Regions from separate parts of the Homo sapiens genome. Here regions 2, 3, 4 and 5 are each linked to region 1. The links are contacts of gene promoters, found by promoter capture Hi-C in blood cells and fetal thymus (Javierre and others, 2016). All regions are on one chromosome and are shown on one strand. Each heading gives the region's core, a stretch centred on a gene start or on the middle of the fragment in contact. The rest is flanking DNA. Distances are from core to core; before and after follow the strand shown.

The links. The method cuts DNA at HindIII sites, captures the fragments that hold promoters and counts their contacts. A CHiCAGO score of 5 or more calls a contact.
Region 2: a contact is called between a fragment that was not itself captured here and the fragment with the promoter of CNGA3 in region 1, in 6 of 17 cell types (total B cells, naive B cells, total CD8 T cells and 3 more). The highest score is 8.9, in total B cells.
Region 3: a fragment that was not itself captured here is called in contact with the fragment with the promoter of CNGA3 in region 1 in 1 of 17 cell types (M2 macrophages); the score reaches 6.3 in M2 macrophages.
Region 4: a fragment that was not itself captured here is called in contact with the fragment with the promoter of CNGA3 in region 1 in 1 of 17 cell types (naive CD8 T cells); the score reaches 5.8 in naive CD8 T cells.
Region 5: a contact is called between a fragment that was not itself captured here and the fragment with the promoter of CNGA3 in region 1, in 1 of 17 cell types (M2 macrophages). The highest score is 6.0, in M2 macrophages.

What each region holds. Positions count from the first base shown.
Region 1 is chr2:98,344,461-98,348,589 of GRCh38, reverse strand. It overlaps CNGA3 (cyclic nucleotide gated channel subunit alpha 3), which reads right to left and starts at 2,134. Exons shown (of 8, transcript NM_001298.3): 1 at 2,056-2,134. RefSeq lists an enhancer at 1,123-1,634. The HindIII fragment of the contact is 4,952 bases long and covers 1-4,117 here.
Region 2 is chr2:97,850,704-97,855,311 of GRCh38, reverse strand. The region is part of intron 5 of TMEM131 (transmembrane protein 131); the gene reads left to right. Among named protein-coding and RNA genes, the nearest start is that of ZAP70, 140 kb to the right of the region's middle. The HindIII fragment of the contact is 301 bases long and covers 3,197-3,497 here.
Region 3 is chr2:98,028,329-98,032,733 of GRCh38, reverse strand. No RefSeq gene overlaps it. Among named protein-coding and RNA genes, the nearest start is that of TMEM131, 35 kb to the right of the region's middle. The HindIII fragment of the contact is 3,242 bases long and covers 1-2,949 here.
Region 4 is chr2:97,893,926-97,898,212 of GRCh38, reverse strand. All of the region lies in intron 3 of TMEM131 (transmembrane protein 131), which reads left to right. Among named protein-coding and RNA genes, the nearest start is that of TMEM131, 100 kb to the left of the region's middle. The HindIII fragment of the contact is 6,077 bases long and covers 1-4,287 here.
Region 5 is chr2:98,002,926-98,007,590 of GRCh38, reverse strand. No RefSeq gene overlaps it. Among named protein-coding and RNA genes, the nearest start is that of TMEM131, 9.3 kb to the right of the region's middle. The HindIII fragment of the contact is 2,352 bases long and covers 1,266-3,617 here.

The sequences.
Region 1 (4,129 bases), core at 885-3,384:
GGACGCTGTGGGAATGAGGGAGGAAGGGGAGGGCGGGACGGAGAAGGGTTCTGGAACCTGGTCACTGCCGTCCCCGCCCCACTCCCTAGGGAAACTAGCGGCCAGAGCTGGAAAGAGCCTGAGTAGCTTCCAACTGTTTACCTTCTGGGTACCATGGCGACTGGAGACTGGTCGCCATGGCAACCTCAATATTAATCAGAGGCAGCCACCACTAGCAGATGGTGAATGAGGACAGAAAAGACATAGAAACAGGAGCATCAAAGGCAAGTGCACACGTAGTCACGGCCAAAGTCCCAGCTAAAGTGATTAAGATCCTGCCTCCACCAGCCAGTCACCCCAAGAACCACCGCTCCTCCCCTCCGGGCATCTACACAGGAGGAGGCCCCTCTCTGTGGCTGAACCGAGGCTGAAGAGGAAGTGCGGTGTTTGGGCATTGGTGCGAAGCAGGGGGAGTTCCTGTCCTTCCCCCTACCCCAAAGAACGCAAAGAAGCTCCCACCAGCTTAGTGAAATCCCATCTGGGTCCTCTGACCTGGCCGACTTTTCTACAACTGGGACTCTGGCGTAGAAGACCCAGTTGGTGGATACCACACACAAGTGACCATCTCTCCTCTCCCGGCCCAACCACCCGCGTCCCCCATGAATTCTCAGCGTGAACGCACGCTGTACATTGGACTCCGTGCCCAGACAGCACTATTCTTGCTGGTTTTCATGAATGAAAGTGTGTATGTGTTGGGGGGAGGGGGTGGCGGACAGTGCATAATGTTAGGGGCACCGAGCTGTCCACTCCGGGATGGAGTCTGAACCCGGGTGGGTGCCATTCCTGCTGATCCCAGCCTCGCCCCTTTGGAAGATGTGATGGGGAGCGTCTGCCGTCGGGGTGCCGGGCTTCGCTGCAAGGGACTGCTCCCGCCAGCTTCCGGCGAGGCCTGAGCCGGCGGACTGCGTGTCAGAGGCACCTGGTTCAGGCCAAAGAGGCCGGGGCGCCGGCTCCAGGTCCTCTAGGTTCCAGCGCCATTCATCCTCCCTCACGCGCCGCGCCAACCGGAGACCCCCGCTGCAGAGGGCCGAAGTTAAAGTCCCAGCTGCGCCGCTCAGTAGGGAGATTACACAGGGAGAAAAATGAATCACCCGGCCCGGGGTTGCGGGACTGCGAGGGCCTGCGCGCCAAGGCCCCCAGGGGCGTCGGGAGGGGCCGCGGGCTGAGCTAAAGAGAAAAGCCTGACGGCTGGGAGCCCGGCGCCTTTATCCGGTTAGGGGATTGCAGAGGATCAGAGAGCCCGCCGCCCCTTCTCCTCCATCACCGAGCACTAAGCCCCGGGCGTCCGAGATCCCGGGTGTGATTTTATCATTAAAAAAAGTAACCGCGCACTCCTAAAAGAATTTTAATTCTCGCCTCCTCCTCAGCCTACCTTTCTCTTTGAATCCCCAAGGGAAAATAGTCCCCTGGGTTGGGGGGCAGTCCTTCGCCGCTGCCTTCCCCCGGCCCTGCTCCCTCCAGGCCACTGACTCAACCTCCCCCGGCGCGGCGCGGACTCGAGAAGACGCGGCGCCCGCTCCCGACTTGGAGCCGGGGAAGTGGGTCCTTCCCGGACTGGCGGTCCGGGGACAGCGTGACAGGAGGAAATGTATGGGGTGGGGTCGCGGCTGCAAGCCCTACCCGTCCCCAGCGGGAGCCAGCCCTGCTCCTTCTGCCTCCCGCCCCGACGGCTCAGCGGGCTCGGCCCAGCGCGGCTGTGGGACGTGAGTAAAAGGGGGTGCGATCGGCTTGGGGAGCACGGGGAGGGCTTCCTGTCCTTTGAACTGGACTGGAGGGGTATGGGAGCCGGGGAGTGGGAGCCGAGGCCGTAGCCGATCCTTTTTCACTTTCTCTCCAGCCCGCGGCCCGTTTCAGCACCGGGGGCTGCGGACAGCGCCGCGCCCGCCCCTGGAAGCAGCAGCATCCCTCCCCTGCGTGTGGTTCTCTAACTTACCTCCTGTATGGGGTCTGCGGCCCCAGCACACCTCCCGGCGCCCCCCAAAAAATTCCAGCTCAAGAGCCCCTAAAAATCCTTACCCTGCCAAAGTTTGAGCTTCTCCGCGGCGCGCCAGGGTCTGCGGAGCGCCTCCTCCCTCGGCCTCCTAGGCGCAGTTCCGCTCGCTCCCTCCCCCGCGCTCCCGGCCCAGGACTCTGCTCGGCGACTGCTGAAGGAGCCTGTGGCCTCCCTCTCCGTGGGAAAGTAAGGTGAGGCTCTGGAGCCTCAAAGGCGGTCCGAAAGAGGCAGAAGTCATTAGTTCACATCCCCAACCCTCCCAGGGAGGACGGGGAGAGTCAGGGGCAAGAAAGCAAACAAGTCCGTCGTTCCGTTCTGGGTTCTCTCCTAACTGTGGGCGGCCACCCTGGACTCCTTCCTGGGATGTTTTGCTGGTAGTGTAATCCACACTGGATGAGTAAGCAACAGAGATCTGGGGTTTGAAGTTTAAAGGTGGGGACACACACACACACACACGCACAAAGTCTTGGACCCGTTTGCCATCTTAGGGAAGATGTTAGAAACAAGTTTCTCTTTGGGACAATGTGTATTCTCCTTGCAGAGTTTTTGTTTCCTTCCATCACATCAGATAACATCGGATTTCCTGAACTAAAAATTAAAACCACCAATCCAGCTAGTAATTATTTAACCCCTATTGAAGCCCAAGGAACTTAAACTCTTTTTGGAGAAAATAACTTTATTTACTAAAACTCATTTTCCTCCCAGAAGGTGTACTTCCAAGAACACACCTCTCCATGAAGGATGAAGACCGAATCCTGCCTTTCCCTCACCAGCAATTGCATGCTCTGGTTCTGGATCGCAGGAGCAGGTCCCGGGAGGAATCCAAGCCTCCTTGCCTGGGACAAGCCTCTTGGGTTCCAGGTTCTCTTGACTGATACCCTCATGGGAAGAAACTCCACAAAAGCAGATCCCACCGCAGCCAGCTAACCAGAGCTTCTCTGAGGACTTGGAGTACATGGCATTTCCTAGCATACTTATCAAATCGCCTGTTAATTGAACACATTATCTTTAGAAGGCTTAAGTTCATCGAGTTCATGCAATACTTGAAGGGAGAGATGAAGTGTATGTTTTTCACTGAAGAAATAAAGAATTAGAATGGCTCACACACACATGTGCATGTGTGCACACATGTCATGTCTTAAAGGGGGGAAGTAAAACCTAGACAAATTTTCCCCCAAAGAAAATCAGGCTTAGTCGTTCAGATTCAAGGGACTCTGGTAGTGGAAGAGCAAATAAATGGAAGTGGTGAATCAACAAAAGGAAGCCAAAGCCACAGAAGTTGGAAGAGAGGAGAATTCTTATTTTATTACTTGGGCTTCTGAAAGGAACCTGAAATTATAATAATTTCAAGAGAAAATATAATAGATGAGACTTTGCCTCATTGAGGACTTCAGTATTCTTATTCCAGGGAATCTCCACGTGCCTCAATTATGAATCTCCACGTGCCTCAGTTGTTATGTGCATTTTTTTTATAGTTCTCATTGTCAGGAAATGCTTTATTTCTTCTAATCTCATTAATTTATGCAACAAGTTAAAGCTGTTTCCTGCTGGCTTGTCCTCAGGGAAGACTGGAAGCAGATGATTATTTTCTGTTGTCCAGAAACATTTCAGAGTTTCAAAAGAATCTTAAATCCTGATTTTGGAGTAAATAGTAGTGATCATGAGATCATTTTAAGGCATCATCCTGAAAAATCCCCTTGGACTTTGTTTCTGAAATGCACATCATTCCTAAGATTTGAAGGGGAAAACAAGACCTCACAGAATTAATCAAGAAATGGAGAAGTGTCCTGAGTCTGATGAAATGAGATAGAGTGTTTAGCACAGAAATGGGCACATAGTTGGCCCCTAGGGAATGATGTATGTGGCAATAGTTATCATTGAAGAACTTTGGGTGTCTGAAAAGTGGAAACAGATGAAGAGACTGGAAATGAATGGAAAGAGACTGAAGGGGATGTATCTGTGAATTTGCCTGCAAAAGTCATCGAGCTGCAAGATCCTAGGCTGCCATGATGGAGGGTCCAGATTTGGCCCAATGCTCACTCAATGGAGTGGCCTCTGGGGACCTTTCCAATTATTGCTCAAGCTTCAACTGAGGCA
Region 2 (4,608 bases), core at 2,098-4,597, 490 kb after region 1:
ATAATGGTGAGAATGGAGGAAGTTTGAGTGTATTAGCTTTTTATTCAGTCATCTTTGCACTGTATCACTAAGTAAAATAAGCACTTGTTACTTTTGCAGTTTAAAACATACAAGAAAATGTAAATTAAAAATAGTTTTGCCACCCCACCTATGTGGAAAGAAGGAATTAATTTAACAAATATTTATGAAGTGTCTACTTAAAGTGCCAGGCACTTTTGTTTTTACCAGTGAAAACAGAGATGCTTATCATACATACTCTGGGGAGTTTGGGTGAAGTCAGCAGCAGAGGGAAGGCAAGCATGATAAATAAGTAAATTTTATAAGATCTTAGAAGATGTTACAAGGTCAGAAGAAAAGTATAAGATCAGAGACTTAGGTGTGCACAGGGAAGGCGGTACCATTTTAAATAGGGTGGTCAGGGTAGGCTTTATTCAGAAGGTGACATTTGAACAAAGACTCGAAGGGCGTGAGGTAGGACTGTTTGGAGGAAAGTGAAATATATGGAAGAAGAGCATTCTAGCCGGAAGGACCAAGCAGTATAAAGTCTCCATTGTTGAAAGCAGGCCTGTTGTGCAAAGACAGCCAGACCAGAGTGAGCATGGGTGAGAGGAGAAGTAAGGGGGCAGACTATGAAGGGTCTTACAAACTATGGTTTGACTTGACTCTTTTTCCTGAATGATGTGGAAAGCCATCAAAGGGTTTTGAACAGAGGAATGAAATTGTAGCTTTAGGTTTTAATAGGATCATTGTTCATCAAAAATAGGACAAGGGACACCAGTCACATTGGCTGTTGTCATACTCCAGGGTAAGAAGATGATTAGATGATTACTCTGACCAGAGTGGTACGTGGAAGAGGTGAAGAAAGGAGTTGGACTTGGGATACAGGGATACCTTGGAGATATTATGGGTTCCGTTCCAGACCACTGCAGTAAGCCAGTCACAGAATTTTTTTGTTTCCCCATATATATAAAAGTTATGTTTATACTATACTGTGGCCTATTAAGTGCAGTAGCATTGTGTCTAAAAAATGTACATACCTTAATTTCAAAAATACTTTATTGCTAAAAACTGCTGATGATCATGTCAGCCTTCTGCAAGTCGTCATCTTTTTGCTGGTGGAGGGCCTTCCCTCAATGTTGACAGCCACTGACTGATCAGGGTAGTGGTTGCTGAAGGTTGGGATGGCCGTGACAGTTGCTTAAAATAAGACAGCAGTAAAGTTTGCCACATTCATTGATTCTTCTTTTCACAAAAGATTTCTCTGTAGCGTGCAATGCTGTTTAATAGCACTTTACCCACAGCAGAAATTCTTTCAAAATTGGAGTCAATCCTTTCAAACCCTGCCTCTAAGTTTATGTAGTATTCTAAGTTCTTTGCTGTCATTGTCAGCATATTCACAGCATCTTCACTAGGAGTAGATTTCATCTCACGAAACCACTTTTTTTGCTCATCCCTAAGAAACAACTCCTCTTCCGTTCAAGTTTTATCATGGGATTGCACAAATTCATTCACATCTGCAGATGCCACTTCTAATTCTTTTCTCTTGCTGTTTCTACCACATCTACAGTGACTTCTCCACTGAAGTCTTGAACCCTTCCTTCAAAGTCATCCATAAGGGTTGGGATTAACTTCTTCCAGCCTCCTATTGTTGACATTTTAACCTTCTCCCATGAATCACAAATGTTCTTTTTTTTTTTTTTTTTTCCAAGACGGGGTCTCACTCTGTCGCCCAGGCTGGAGTGCACTGGCACAATCTTGGCTCACTGCAACCTCCGCCTCCCAGGTTCAAGCAATTCTCCTGCCTCAGCCTTCTGAATAGCTGGGATTATAGGCCCGTCCCACCACTGCCAGCTACATTTTTTTTTTTTTTTTTTTTTTTAGTAGAGATGGGATTTCACCATGTTGGCGAGGCTGGTCTCGAACTCCTGACTTCAGGTGATCCACCCGCCTCAGCCTCCCAAAGTGCTGGGATTACAGACTTGAGCCACTGTGCCCAGCTGCAAATGTTCTTAATGGCATTTAGAATGGTGACTCATTTCCAGGAGGTTTTCAATGGACTTTGCCCAGATCCATCAGAGGAATCACCCTTTGTGGCAGCTATAGCCTTAAGCAGTGTATTTCTTCAATAAGAAGACTTGCAACTTGAAATTACTCCTTGATCCTTGGCTGAAGAATGGATGTTGTGTTAGCAGTCATGAAAACAACGTGCATCTTCTTGTACATTTTCATCAGAGCTCCTGGGTGACCAGTTGCCTTGTCACTGAGCAGTAATATTTGGAAAGAAATCTTTTTTCTGAGCATTAGGTCTCAACAGTGGATTTTAAATATTCAGTAAACCATGTTATAAATAGATGTGCTGTTATCTAGGCCTTGTCCATTTATAGAGCACAGGTAGAATAGATTTAGCACAGTTCTTAAGGTCTCTAGAATTTTCAGAATGGCAGATGAGCACTGGCTTCAACTTAAAGCCACCAGCTGTGTTAGTCCCTAATAAGAGAGAGTCAGCCTGTCCTTTGAAGCTTTGAAGCCAGGCACTGACTTCTCTTTAGATGGTATCTTCCAACAGAAGGCTGCTTGATCTACATGGAAAATTTGTTGTTTAGTGTGGCCACGTTCATCAATGATCTTAGCTAGATCTTCTGGATAACTTGCTGCAACTTGTACATCAGCATTTAATGCTTCACCTTGCACTTTTATGTGATGGAGCTGGCTTCTTTTCTTAAACCTCATGAATCGATCCCTTTTAGCTTTCAGCTATTCTGCAGCTTCCTCCCCTCTCTCAGCCTTCACAGAATTAAAGAGAGTCAGGGCCTTGCTCTGGATTAGACTTTGGCTTAAGAGAATGGTATGGCAAGGCCAGGCGTGGTGGCTCACGCCTGTAGTCCCAGCACTTTGGGAGGCTGAGGCAGGTGGATCACCTAAGGTCAGGAGTTCGAAACCAACCTGGCCAACGTGGTGAAACCCCATCTCTACTAAAAATACAAAAATTGGGTGTGGTGGTGTGCACCTATAATCTCAGTTACTCAGGAGGCTGAGGCACAAGAATCGCTTGAACCTGGAAGGCAGAGATTGCAGTGAGCCAAGACCACGCCATTGCACTCCAGCCTGGGCATCAAGCGAAACTCCATCTCAAAAAAAAAAAAAAAAAAAGAGAATGCCGTGGCTGCTTAGCTCTTCCATCCAGACCACTAAAGCTTTATCCCTATCAGCAATAAGGCTGTTTTCCTTCTTTACCACATGTGTGTTCACTGGAATAGCATTTTTAACTTCCTTCAACAACTTTTCCTTTGCATTCACAGCTTGGCTGTTTGGCACTAAAGGCCTAGCTTTGAGCCTCTCTTGGCTTTGAGCATGTCTTCCTCACTAACCTTATTTCCAGATTTTGGGTTAAAGTGAGAGATGTGCAACCCTTCCTTTTACTCCAACACTTACAGGCCATTGTAGGGCTACTAATTGGCCTAATTGTAATATTATTGTATCTTAGGAATAGGGAAGCTTGAGGAGAGGAAGGGAGTTGGGAGAACAGCAGTTGGTGGAGCAATGAGAACACACATAACATTTTTCGATTTAAGCTTGCCATCTTATGTGGGCATAATTTGTGGTGCCCTAAAACAATTTCAGTAGCAACATCAAAGATCACAGATCACCATGCAGATATAATAATAATGAAAAATTTGGAAATATTGCAAGATTGCCAAAATGTGACACAGAGATAGAAAGTGAGTACATGGTGTTGGAAAAATGACACTGATAGACTTGCTTGATGCGTGGTTGCTACAAACCTTTAATTTGTCAAACAAAAAACTGCAGTACCTGCGAAGTGCAGTAAAGCAAAGCACAATAAAATGAGATATGCTGTATGTTTTGAAGATACACCCAACAGGATTTCCTGATGTGGGATTTGAGAGAAAGAGAAGAGTCAAAATTGACTCTAGAATTTTGTCCTGAGCAACTAGAAGGACAGAGTTGAGTCAGCTGAATTGAAGAAGGCAGAGGGTAGAACGGGTTTCAGAGGTACAATCAGTAGTTCAATTTGGACATGTTAGATTTCAGGTATCTCCTAGATATCCAAGAGGAGGTGGCAAATAGGCAGATAGTATTCGAGTTTGGTATATGAGAACTCGACTAGAAATAGAAATTTAGGAGTCACTAGTGTATATCTGAAGCCATGGATCTGGATGAGATCACCAAGGAAGGAAAAAGCCCAGGGACTGAGCTATGGTACAGTGCTGACTTGGGAAAATTACGGTTTCTTAGTGGTATTACTAGAAACTCAGATCTCCTATCCATCATCTACATACTAGATGTCCAGTTCCGATAGTGGCAGAAAACTGCACTAAAAATTAAACATTCCATGGTGATTTTTCTAACTCTTTGGAGTTTAGATGGGCCTTAAAAGGGTATTGTTTGAATATAGACATTTTTAAATCAAATTAAGTTCTCATAAAAACCTTAAAGGAAACCAGTTTTCCTCTGGATACATTTTCAGTAATAAACATAGGCCTTATGAATCTCTTCATTGACACTAGAACTGTTCTTGGGTAGGAATACCATAATTCTAAAACTTTCACCTTTTTTTAGAGAACATTTTAGATTTTTTTTAGGTGG
Region 3 (4,405 bases), core at 79-2,578, 320 kb after region 1:
CACCTACCTGAGTTTACACAGTCACTTTCTACACAAGGAGCTGAAACCGAATCCAGGGCCCACCCCATCCCTCTCCAAGTGTATGGGCTGAATTGTGCTCTTCCAAAAAAGATGTGTTGAAGTTCTGGCCCTCAGTACTGCAGAATGTGACTTTATTTGAAGAGTGTCTTTGCAGATATAATTAGTTAAGATGAAGTCATACTGGAGTAGGGTAGGTTCCTAATCCAATATGATAATGTCCTTATTTTTAAAACCATCATGCAAAGATACAGACACACAGGGAGAGCAGCATGGGATGACAAAGGCAGAGATGGGAGTGATGCAGCTGCAAGCCGAGGAACAGCACAGATGCTGGTGACCCCTGGAAGCCAGGAAGAGGCAAGGAAGGACTCCCCTCCAGGCTTCAGAGGCAGCAGGCCTTGCTGACACCTTGATCTCAGACTCCCAGCCTCCAGGACTGCGAGGCAACACAGTTCTATCTTCAGCCACACAGTTGGTGGTACTTTGTTACAGCAGCCTAGGAACTGATACTTTGCATGTGATGGTGAATTTTAGGTGTCAACCTAGATGGATTAAGGAATACCTAGAGAACTAGGAAGGCATTATTTCTGGGTGTGTTTGTGAGGATGTCTCCAGGAGACTGGAGTGTGAGTTGATAGGCTGAATGAGGAAGATCTCCCCTCAAGGTAGGTGGGCACCATCCAATCAGCTGCGGCCCAGAAAGAACAAAAAAGTCAGAGGAAAGGTGATTTCCTCTCTCTCTCCTGGAGCAGGACACCCTTCTTTTCTTGCCCGTGGACACCAGAACTCCAGGATCTCCAGCTCTGGGACTCCAGGACCTGCACCAGAGGCTCCCCAGGTTCTCAGGTCCTTGGTCTTGGACTGAGAGTTCCACCATCTGCTTCCCTTGTTCTGAGGCCTGTGGACTTGGATTAGGCCAGGCTACTGGCATCCCAGGGTCTCCAGTTTGCAGACAGCCTGTTATGGGACTTCTCAGCCTTCACAATCATATAAGCCAGTTTCCCTGATAAAATCCCTCCTCTGTATCTGTCTACCTACTCCATCTATGTATCTATCTATGTATCTATGTATCTATGTATCTATCTATCTATCTATCTATCTATCTATCTATCTATCTATCTATCGTCTATCCAATCATCTATATGTCTAGCCTATTGGTTCTGTCTCTCTGGAGAATCTTGACTAAGACACTGGGTGGCTCTCATTTGCACTTGATAGTAATCTCCTCCAAGAAGCCAGTCAAATTTAGGAGATACTTCTTGTCAGGCCTCTGAGCCCAAGCTAAGCCATCATATCCCCTGTGACCAGCACGTATACATCCAGATGGTCTGAAGTACCTGAAGAATCACAAAAGAAGTGAAAATGGCCTGTTCCTGCATTAACTGATGGCATCATCTTGTGAAATTCCTTCTCCTGGCTCATCCTGGCTCAAAAGCTCCCCTACTGAGCACCCTGTGACCCCCCACCCCTGCCCACCGGAGAACAACCCCCTTTGACTATAATTTTCCTTTACCTACCCAAATCCTATAAAACGGCCCCACCCCTATCTCCCTTCCCTGACTCTCTTTTTGGACTCAGCCCGCTGCACCCAGGTGAAATAAACAGCCTTGTTGCTCACACAAAGGCTGTTTGGTGGTCTCTTCACATGGATGTGAGTGAAACTCCTATGATATCTTATATTTATCCTGTGTTTGGTAAAATAAGATTTCTAAAATAACCAATTTTGGGGTTATTATTATTTAAAAAAACTTTTTTTTTTTCTTTTCTGGCGTTCTTCCCAAGCAAATATTCAGTCCTGATATGGTCAGGGAGATGATAGGATGGTGGGGGACGGTGGAAATTACCAGCAAGATTCTTCCCAAAGTGACTTAAAACAAGATTTTTATTTCACACCTTTCATGAGGCAAGAATCTGGGAGTCCCTCAGCTGGGTGGTTCCAGTCCAGAATTTCTGCTGTAGATACAGTCAAAGTGTCAGCTGGGGCTGCAGTAATCTGAAGGCATGGATTCCAAAGCATGGTCCCTAGGGGAACACGGAGGACCAAAGCATAGACATGTATTTGGGGACATGAGGTTTGAAGAAGGAGGCTCACCCCCACAACAACCCTGTCAGATTAGAAAATTTCCTGACAAGTGAGGAGGGAAAGGATGAATAGGGGAGGAGGTGAGAGCAGAGGATGGAGGGTTTCTAAAAGAGAAGCTGCAATTGGCTTTCCTGGAGGAGTCCTGGGAAATGTGGGAAGACCTTGGGGCAGTTCCAAGCACTTTGTAAGAGGACTTCATAAGTATTTAATCTTCACGAATCTCTGTAAATATTATTATTTACAAATGCACAAACTGAGGCTTAGGGAGGTTAAATAACTTGCACAAAGACACTCCCTGGATAAGCAAGTGTGGTAGCCAGCCTCCAAGATGACCTCCAATGAGTCCTACTTCCAGTATTTATGCCCTTCCACAGTCCCAGCCCCCCACACTGAATCAGGATCAGTCTATGTGACCAAGGGAATGTGGCAGAGGTGATGGTATATTGCTTCTGAGGCTAGGCCATAAATGATATGTGGCTTCTGCCTTCTGTCTCTCGGAGTGCTTGCTTAGGGCGAAGTTAGCCGAAAGTCATGAGGACATTCACACTGTCTATGAAGAGGCCCATATGGCGAGAAACTGAAGCCTCCTGCTAGCAGCCAAGTGGGTGACCCATGTTAGGTGTGAATCTTCCAACCTCAGTCAAGCCTTCAGATAACTCAGCCTCAGCTGACATCTTGACTGCAACCACATGAGAAATTCTCAACTGGAACCTCCCAGCTAAGTCACCCCTAAATTCCTGCCTCACTGAAAATGAAATAAGAAATACTTGTGTTATTATGAATCACGTTGAGGTAATCAGCTGCATAGCATAGAGAACTAGCACAGCAGGGTTCAAACAGAAGCTTGTCTGACCCCTGGGTGATGCCATCAGTTTCCCACAGGCCCTTCTGTCTTCCGCCTTTTCTCTTATCAATAATAAATGGAGAATACATTAATACTTAAAAATCAAAATGCAAATGTTATAAAATGTTCAGGCAGAAATTTAAAGGAGAGAAAAAAGATTCTAGCAACCACCGAAAGCAAACATGGCACGAACAGAGGGCACGGGCTGGGGCCGAAAGTGTTCAAGCCATAAACTGTAATGAGTGCAAACTCTAGGCCCAGCACGGAGCAGGCAGGGGCTTGGCCCTGGGGAGGTACAGACATACAAAAACCCCAGCACCTGGCCTCAGGGACCCTGCAGGCTAGCCAGAGAGAGTCTCTTTTTTCTGGTGTGACTGGTGGTCACGTACAAGTTGAGCAAAAGCAGGAAAGGAGGAGACTGACGGGTCCTGGGAACACAGCAGGGGACATACATTCAAAATGGGGACATTTGGTCCTTTTCATTCTGGAAGTGTCCAGTTATCAACCTTAAGAGACAGCGTAACCTGCGCCTAGCTGTGGGTGAGCAGCACCCTGAGGTGTGGCCATGGCTGGAACCCACTGGGAGCTGCCCGAGTCACCTTAAGGTGCCCGTGTTCAAACAGTGTTGAGTTAATATCTTCTGAGCTCTTGTTTGCAAGGCACTGTGTCAGGCATTGCAGACTCCACCCTTAAGAGGTCAAAAGTGTGAGACAAACACACAAAGAATTCAGATCCAAGAAAAATATTCTGTGTCCGTGAAGTTAATGACATGATCCAATGGCTAAAGCCTGGCCAGCAGTGCTCAGTGGGCAGCTGGGAGATTGTGGCCTGGGGTCTGACAAGGGCAGCAGCAATGGCTGCTGGAGTAAAGGGCTCTGGAAATTGGAAACTCATTGACTGGTTTGTCAGTACAGTAGTATCAAGGGAATATATGTACATTTATAGGCAGGAGCTAGGACTACCAAGACACTGATGGAAACGGTAGGCCCCAAATCTGAAAGTTCCAGGTCAAAGCAAGAAGCATAGAGGAACAAAGTTGAAAGTCCAGTTGAGCATAAAAAATGGGTTTGGGCAGTGAGAGCCAGGACAGCAGGAGTTTGAGCCTGGTTTGGCAGGGCAGAGGAGCGAGATGAGGTGTCAGAGTAATAGTCCTGCTTCCTAGGGAGTAGTACCTGATCTAAAAAGATTGTGAAAAATTTCCCAGAGGTAGACAGAAAGTTCATATCCGGTTGGGGAATCAGTAAAGGCCTGTGGGGCTTTGAAGGATAAGCAGGGTTTTGAGCAGCAGAGCTGGTTATCAGGGAAGAGAAGGAATCATGGTGGAAGAGTCAGAATGAGCAATGGCACTGGTATGGGACAAACGCAAGGCATGCTTGGTGAACAGCTTAGACCAGTCGCACGCAGCAGGGGTGGAGGGGAGAGGATGCTGCCAAATCTCAGAGGGAAGGGAATTTGCC
Region 4 (4,287 bases), core at 1,191-3,690, 450 kb after region 1:
AAGACATAGAGCATCAGCTTTAAATAGAAGAAAATAAAGGATATACTAGAAATCAATTAAATAGAAAGTGAAAAAAAATCAATGTAAACTAAAACTGATTCTTTGAATGTAGCTAGATTGGTTAAGAAAGGCAGACAAAAAAAATCAGTAATGAAATAGGGGATATCACTACAGATCTTATAAACATTCAAAGAATAAGAGAAATTATGAATCCCTTCATTCTCAAATTCAGCAATTTAGATGAAGTGGTCAAATACTTGAAAGATACAAATTATTAAAACTAACCAAGAGAGAATTAGAAAATTAGTTTTTAAATATCTGTTAAAGACATAGAATTTACAGTTTTAAACCTTTCCACAAAGAAAACTGCAGGCTCATATGACTAAACTGGTAAATTCGATCAGACACCTAGTGAAAAATTACTAGTCTTACATAAACGCTTTTAGAAAAGAGGAATAGAATGTCCTTCCTTACACGTTTTATGAGGTGATTATTGCAGGCATTAAAGAAAGCTAGAAGCGACATCTCTTCAAACATATATTCAGAAATCTCTAACAGAATATTAGCAAATCAAATCCAGAAACGTGATAACAGGGTAATGCATCATGGCCAACAGGGTTTTATCCTAGGAATGCAAGATTATTATTTGAAAACAATATAATTTTTCTTGTTAACAAAATTTTAAACGCCTTTGTAATTATTTGAATAGATGTAGAAAAAGCCTGTGACAACATTCAGCATCTGTTCAGCACATTAAGAATAGAGAAGAATGTCTTTAACCTGATAAAGAGTATCTATGGAAAAGTAACAGTTAACATGGTATTAATGGTAAAAGATTGAATGCTTTCTTTCTAAGATTGGGAAAGTGGCAAGGATGTCCACTTTCATCACTTACATTAAACATTGTACTGGATGTGGTAGTCATTACATTAAGACAAGAAACAGAAATAAGAGCCATCAGATTGGAAAGGAAAAACAAAAAGGATTTTGTCTACAAACCATGTGATTGTGTGCATAGAAAGTCCTAAGGAATATACCAAAAAGTAATACAGTCAGTAATCAGAAGTAACTGATTTCTTCATAACAAATACAAAAATAAAATGTTGTAGAAAAATGTGATTTACAATGGCATAAATCACTGCATACTTTGGGATAAATTTAACAAAAAAAATGTTGAGACCTGTACACTGAAAACTGTAATATAGAGTAATTAAAGAACTCCTAGATATATTGAGAAAGATTCCGCGTTCATGGATTAGAAGACTGTGAAGATGATAATTCTCCCCAGATCAGTTTTAGATTAAGCAATTCCAATAGAAATTTCAACAGACAATTTTTTTTTTTAGAAATTGATAAGCTGCTTTTCAAGATTAGATGGAAAACGTTAAGCATCTAGAATAGACCAAACAAGTTTTAAAAAGAAAAACATCAGAAGATTTAAACTACATGTTTTGAAGATCAAGTTTAAAACTTCTTGTCCAGATGTGTCAAGGTAATTCAATGGCACAAGAATACTCCTTTTCAGCAGGGGTTACAATCCTAGTCTCTGATGAAACAGACTTGAAACCAACAAAGATCAAAAGAGACAAAGAAGGGCATTACATAATGGTAAAGGGATCAATGCAACAAGAAGAGCTAACTATCCTAAATATATATGCACCCAATACAGGAGCACCCAGATTCATAAAGCAAGTTCTTAGAGACCTACAAAGAGACTTAAACTCCCACACAATAATAGTGGGAGACTTTAACATCCACTGCCAATATTCGACAGATCAACGAGACAGAAAATTAACAAGGATATTCAGGACCTGAACTCAGCTCTGGACCAAGCAAACCTAATAGACATCTGCAGAACTCTCCACCCCTAATCAACAGAATATACATTCTTCTCAGCACCAGATCACACTTATTCTAAAATTGACCACATAATTGGAAGGAAAACACTCCTCAACATATGCAAAATAACAGAAATCATAACAGTTTCTCAGATCACAGTGCAATCAAATTCGAACTCAGGATTAAGAAACTCACTTAAAACTGCACAACTACAGGGAAGTTGAACAACCTGCTCCTGAATGACTACTGGGTAAATAATGAAATGAAGGCAGAAAAAAGATGTTCTTTGAAACCAATGAGAACGAAGACACAATGTACCAGAATCTCCGGGACACATTTAAAGCAATGTGCAGAGGGAAATTTATAGCACTAAATGCTCACAAGAGAAAGCAGGAAAGATCTAGAATCGACACCATAACATCAAAATTAAAAGAACTAGAGAAGCAAAAGCAAACAAATTCAAAATCTAGCAGAAGATAAGAAATAACTAAGATCAGAGCAGAACTGAAGGAGATAGAGACACAAAAAACCCTTCAAAAAATCAATGAATCCAGGAGCTGTGTTTTTGAAAAGACCAACAAAATAAATCACTAGCCAGACTAATAAAGAAGAAAAGAGAGAAGAATCAAATCGATGCAATAAAAAATGATAAAGGGGATATCACCATTTATCTGACAGAAATAAAAAACTACCATCAGAGAATACTATAAACACCTCTACGCAAATAAACTAGAAAACCTAGAAGAAATGGATAAATTCTTGGACACATACACCCTCCTAAGTCTAAATCAGGAAGGAGTCGAATCCCTGAATAGACCAATAACAAGTTCTGAAATTGAGGCAGTGATTAATAGCCTACCAACCAAAAAAAGTCCAAGACCAGACAGATTCACAACCAAATTCAACCAGAGGTACAAAGAGGAGCTGGTACCATTCCTTCTGAAACTATTCCAATCAATAGAAAAAGAGAGAATCCTCCTTAACTCATTTTATGAGGCCAACATCGTCTGATCCAAAACCTGGCAGAGACACATCAAAAAAAGAAAATTTCAGGCAAATATCCCTAATGAACATCGATGCGAGAAGCCTCAATAAAATCTGGCAAACCAAATCCAGCACCACACCAAAAGGCTTATCTACCACGATCAAGTTGGCTTCATCCCTAGGATGTAAGGCTGGTTCAACGTATGCAAATCAATAAACGTAATCCATCACATAAACAGAACCAACGACAAAAACCACATGACTATCTCAATAGATGCAGAAAAGGCCTTCGACAAAATTCAACACCCCTTCATGCTAAAAACTGTCAATAAATTAGGTATTGATGGAACATATCTCAAACTAATAAGAGCTATTTATGACAAACCAACAGCGACTATCAAGCTGAATGGGCAAAAACTGGAAGCATTCCCTTTGAAAACTGGCACAAGACAAGGATGCCTTGTCTCACCACCCCTATTCAACACAGTATTGGAAGTTCTGGCCAGGGCAGTCAGGCAAGAGAAAGAAATAAAGAGTATTCAAATAGGAAAGGAGGAAGTCAAGTTGTCTCTGTTCGCAGATGAAATGATGGTATATTTACAAAACCCCATCATCTCAGCTCAAAATATCCTTAAGCTGATAAGCAACTTCAGCAAAGTCTCAGGATACTTCACTGTGCAAAAATCACAAGCGTTCCTATACGCTAATAACAGACAGCCAAATCATGAGTAACTCCCATTCACAATTGCTACAAAGAGAACAAAATACCTAGGAATCCAACTTACAAGGGATATGAAGGACGTCTTCAAGAAGAACTACAAACCACTGCTCAAGGAAATTAAGAGAGGACACAAACAAATGGAAAAACTTTCCATGCTTATGGATAGGAAGAATCAATATCGTGAAAATGGCCATACTGCCCAAAGTAATTTATAGATTCAATGCTGTCCCCATCAAGCTACTATTGACTTTTCTTCACAGAATTGAAAAAAACTACTTTAAACTTCATATGGAACGAAAAAAGAACCCACGTAGCCAAGACAACTCTAAGCAAAAAGAACAAGGCTAGAGGCATCATGCTACCTGACTTCAAATTATTCTGCAAGGCTGCAGTAACCACAACAGCATGGTACTGGTACCAAAACAGATACATAAACCAATAGAACAGAAGTGAGGCCTCAGAAATAACACCACACATCTACAGCCATCTGATCTTTTGACAAACCTGACAAAAACAAGCAATGCAGAAAGGATTCCCTATTTAATAAATGATGTTGGGAAAACTGGCTAGCCATATGCAGAAAACTGAAACTGGACCCTTTCGTTATACCTTATACAAAAATTATCTCAAGATGGATTAAAGACTTAAAACGTAAAACCTAAAACCATAAAAATCCTAGAAGAAAACCTAGGCAATACCATTCAGGACGTAGGCATGGGCAAAGACTTCATATCTAAAACACC
Region 5 (4,665 bases), core at 1,192-3,691, 340 kb after region 1:
GCAACTGAAAATGAGTCTGAAATTCTGGTTCTGTCCGTTCTGTGCAGACTGCAGCTGACATGTTTTATGCCATGGGGATGGAGTAACAGGAACACCCATCTTCAGGGACAGGACTGAAGCTGATGAGAGGCACATAGATAAAAAGTGTCCTCAGAGACTTTCCTCTTCCAAGTGTTATCCTTTTCTGGGACCCAGCCACAGCCCCCTTCTCAGGTCTCCACGGCACACTTCCTTTTCCTCATGATAATGTCTACCTTTCTGGCCAATCTGGTCTGAGTTCGTTTTTCTCACCTTCCAAGGAAGTGTCCTGCTGAATAGTGGTGGAGTCTGCAGGGCCAGCGACTGTGCTGTTTTGCTCAGCACTGTATCTCCTGTGCTATTGCATCTCCTGGCATGTAACAGGGGCTCAGTGATGGAGTTTTGCTCTTGTCGCCCAAGCTGGAGTTCAGTGGTGAAATCTCGGCTTACTTCAACCTTCGCCTCCTGGGTTCGAGCAATTCTCCTGCCTCAGCCTCCCAAGTAGCTGGGATTACAAGCACCCGCCACCACGCCAGGCTAATTTTTGTATTTTTAGTAGAGATGAGGTTTCGCCATGTTGGCCAGGCTTGTCTCCAACTCCTGACCTCAGGTGATCCACCTGCCTCGGCTTCCCAAAGTGCTGGGATTACAGGCATGAGCCACCACATCAGGCTGACACAGAGATTTTTTTTAAAACTAAACTTGAAGTAAAAACACACCACTTTAGCCATGTTTAATTCAACAGAAACGTTATTAGCTTTGGCCCACACAAGGGGTGGGGGTGTTTACAGAAGAATGTAGAGATAATCGGCGCTGTCTTAGAGGTTTCCCACCACACCCTTCTAGTCACTTGGCAAAGAAAGCAACCTCAATCTCATATATGAAATATATATATATGAGATATATATATGTATATATGTATATATACGTACACATATACGTATACATACGTACACATATACGTATACTTGTATACGTATATATACATATATATGTATACGTGTACATGTATACGTATATATATACGTGTATATATATGTCATTGGAACTACATATATAGTTTCATACATATGTAACTATATATCTATTTATACATATATGTAACTACGAAACTATATATGTATGTAACTTTGTATACATAAAGTCCAGTTTCAATGGCATCCATGGAAATGCTGAGCAACCAGTTCTTGGCAGGGTGGGGCTAAGGGTACCTCTGTAGCAAAAGTTCATAGACAGTCATGTAAGCTTCACATTTTACATAATTCAGACTCATCTTCAACATCCATATTTCTTGGAGAAAACGTTCAAGAGAATCTGGTTGGGCCAATGTGGGAAAGGAGTCCATGGCCAATTAACTATGGCAGGGAAGGCAAGACCATGAAGAACAAGCCTGTGTGCCAGAGGTCCACCGCTGTGGGCAGGGGAGCTGCGCTCTCAGAGGGAGAACAAACGGGTGATGCACCAGACTTCACCCTGGTGATGCTTACAGCCTGCATCTCTGATGGGAAGGGATTGGCAGCAGCTAGAGCTGAGAGCAGGCTGCTCAAGGGAAAGGAGCTGTGATGAAAGCAGGGGCCTCAGGAGGCAGGGAGGTGCATCTGCAGCAGCTCTCAGGTCATATCCTAGGCCTGTGTTTGGCTCAGGCTAATGCCTCACATGCTTCTGCCTGCCTCAGAGACATCAAAAGTCTGTGCGTATCATGTTAGTGAACAAACGAACTTTAGTGTCCTACCAGGGTCTCAGACTAACCAGAGAAGAGGAAATTAGCTCAGAGCTGGACTCAAGCCTTCTGTGCTAACCTGTGCAAGCAATCATGGCCTCAGGAGGCTCCTGGGTACTGCCTCTTTAGAGGACAAGAGCAGGTGGTCCTGAGGTCCCAGTAGATGCTGCAAAGCATGGGCACCATTGGCTGCCACTGCAGGCTAAGATTGGTTGATTCAGACGTTTGGCAACAGTGAAAATTCTGTGGAGGAAATATTTCCTAGGGCCTGATGCACCCTCAGGCAGGCCCCACCTGCACCAGCAACGGGCTAAGATCCTTGCTAGCCATCTCTAGTGGAGCTTCATCTAGATCTGAAGTAGCTGTAGGCCTATCATTGCTTCTTTTGTCTTTTTGAACTTTTTATTATGGAAAGTTCCAAGCGTACCTAAAGTAGAGGGACTAGACAGACTAACATAATGAACTTCCACGCGTTGATTACCCAGCTTCAATAATCACCAACTCATGGCTGATCCTCTTTCTTCTATAGCCCCGCCCACTGTCCCCACCCACCCTGCAGATTATTTAGAAATAAATATCATTATATCATTTGATTCATACTTCAGTATATATTTCTGAAAGATAAAACGAATTTAAAAAATCTTTAAAAACCTCTACAAAATCCAAAATAGCCATTATTACGTCTAAGATGATTAATAAATTCTCATCAGAAGTATAGTAGAGGCTGTGCTTTGTGGCTCACGCCTGTATTCCCAGCACTTTGGGAGACTGAGACAGGAGAATCACTTGAGGTCAGGAGTTTGAGACCCATCTGGGCAAGAAAGCGAGACGCACCCCTCCCAATACCCCTACGACCCATCCCCCACCCAACACACAAATTTAGCTGGGCTTGGTGGTGCATGTCTGTAGTCCCAGCTACTCAAGATGCGGAAGTGGAAGGATTGCTTGAGTCCAGGAGCTCAAGGCTACAGTGAACCAAGATCATGCCACTGCACTCCAGCCTGAGTGACAGAGCAAGACTCTACGAAAGGAAGGAAGGAAAGGAAGGAAAGGAAGGGAGGGAAGGAAGGGAAGGAAGGAAAGGAAGGGAGGGAAGGAAGGAAGAAAGGAAGGAAGGAAGGGGAGGTAGGAAGGAAAAAAGGAAGGGAGAGGAGGAGGAGGAGGGAGGGAGGGAAAGGAGGGAGGGAGGGAAGATCAGAGGGAGGGAGGAAGGAAGGAAGGAAGGAAAAAAATCAGTATTCAAATATTCCCTGTTACTGCTTTTCTTAATACATAGACTAAAAATTAAAATTTCAATTTCCCCAACTGCTTTTAAAAACATTCATATTTCACTGGTGACTACAACAAAAATGTATAAAGCCAACAAACAAAAATGTATAAATGACAAAAAATTAAATCTGCTCTTTAGAACTTGATAATTCATGAGAAAATGAAAATAGTTTCCATCATCCTTTCTCAGGCTGCTGTTTTTTATTTGTCTAAGAAGAAAAGAAAATATGTCAAAGCCTATGGTAGTCACTAGGGCTGTTCACTGATGGGCCCACTTATTTATCTCCAGCCAATGGGAGGATTGAACTTCCCTGGTACCTTGAAGTTTGTGTGGTCATATGACTTGTTCTGGCCAATGAGTGTGAGTGGAAGTGATGAAACGTCAGTTCTTACCAGAAAATTTAAATCGACATTAGGAGACCCTCCATAACCCTCTTTTCTTTCTGCTACAAGTGACCCAAATTACTCCACTAGCCAGGATCCTGGATCAACATGTTGTGGGAGAGAAAAAAACAAATTGCTGTTTTAAGCTATTGAGATTTGGGGGTTCTTTATCATCACAGCATAACTTGGCCTACCCTGACTTATAGAAAGTGGCTAGGCTTAAGCTTGTGATTTCAGGGAAGTTCAAGCTAAGGCTAATAACCTTTTAATGTCAGTCCTCTTGAGGAATCATTTCATTCACCTCTTATGATATTACTATATTGATCCATGCTATCATTTTACTAGAGGAGTAGAATTTTAATTCTGTAGTCTTCGACATTATTATGAGATTAAAACAATAATTATAAGAGTGGCCTGCCATATAAAACACCAAAGATATATACAACTTTAATTAAATGGACCCGAAGACGAAACAAAAGACGAGACCCTGGCCTGGAAGTCATGTCTCTGCCCTGCCATGGTCTTGGATAGGTTTCTTCATTTCTGGGCCTCAGTTTTCTTTTTTATAATAATGATTATTATTATAACAGTGACATTGTTGAATATCTGCCATTTGCTAGGTAATTCCATGGTACTTTAGTTTATTCAATTCTTACAACTAATCTTCAGTAGTTATTTTTACCCTTTTTTAAAAACGTGAAACTGTGGAAACTGAAGTTTAGACAGGCTGAGTAATTTGTCAAACCATAGCTGGAAGTGGAGGAGATACTTCCAAAGCCAGACTCAAATAAATATTTAAGATCCATTTCTTGTTCTAAAATCCTATGGCTATTTTGGTGTAAGATGATTCACAAGAAGCAAAATTACATTGTCAAAATGAAAATCATATTTACTCCACCAAAAAGAGCAGTTCTCTTACTGGCAATCATATTTTCCAGTGTGATAGAACACATATTTTATGGAGATCAAAGACTCTGCTATTAATATTTCCTTGCCTGCATAAACTATGAAAGGGCTTCGAAGCATCAAACTTTTATGACAGTGCATGGTAACCATTGTTAATGTATTGTATTATTGAAAATTGCAAAGAGAGTAGATTTTCAGTGTTCTCACCACAAATAAGAATGTATTAGAGGTAATGCATATGTTAATTAGCTCAATTTAGCCATTCCACAACATATACATATTTCAAAACATCATGTATACAATAAATATATACAATTATTGTTTGTTAATTTAAAAAATTAGTTTTAAAAACTTTAGGACTGAATACA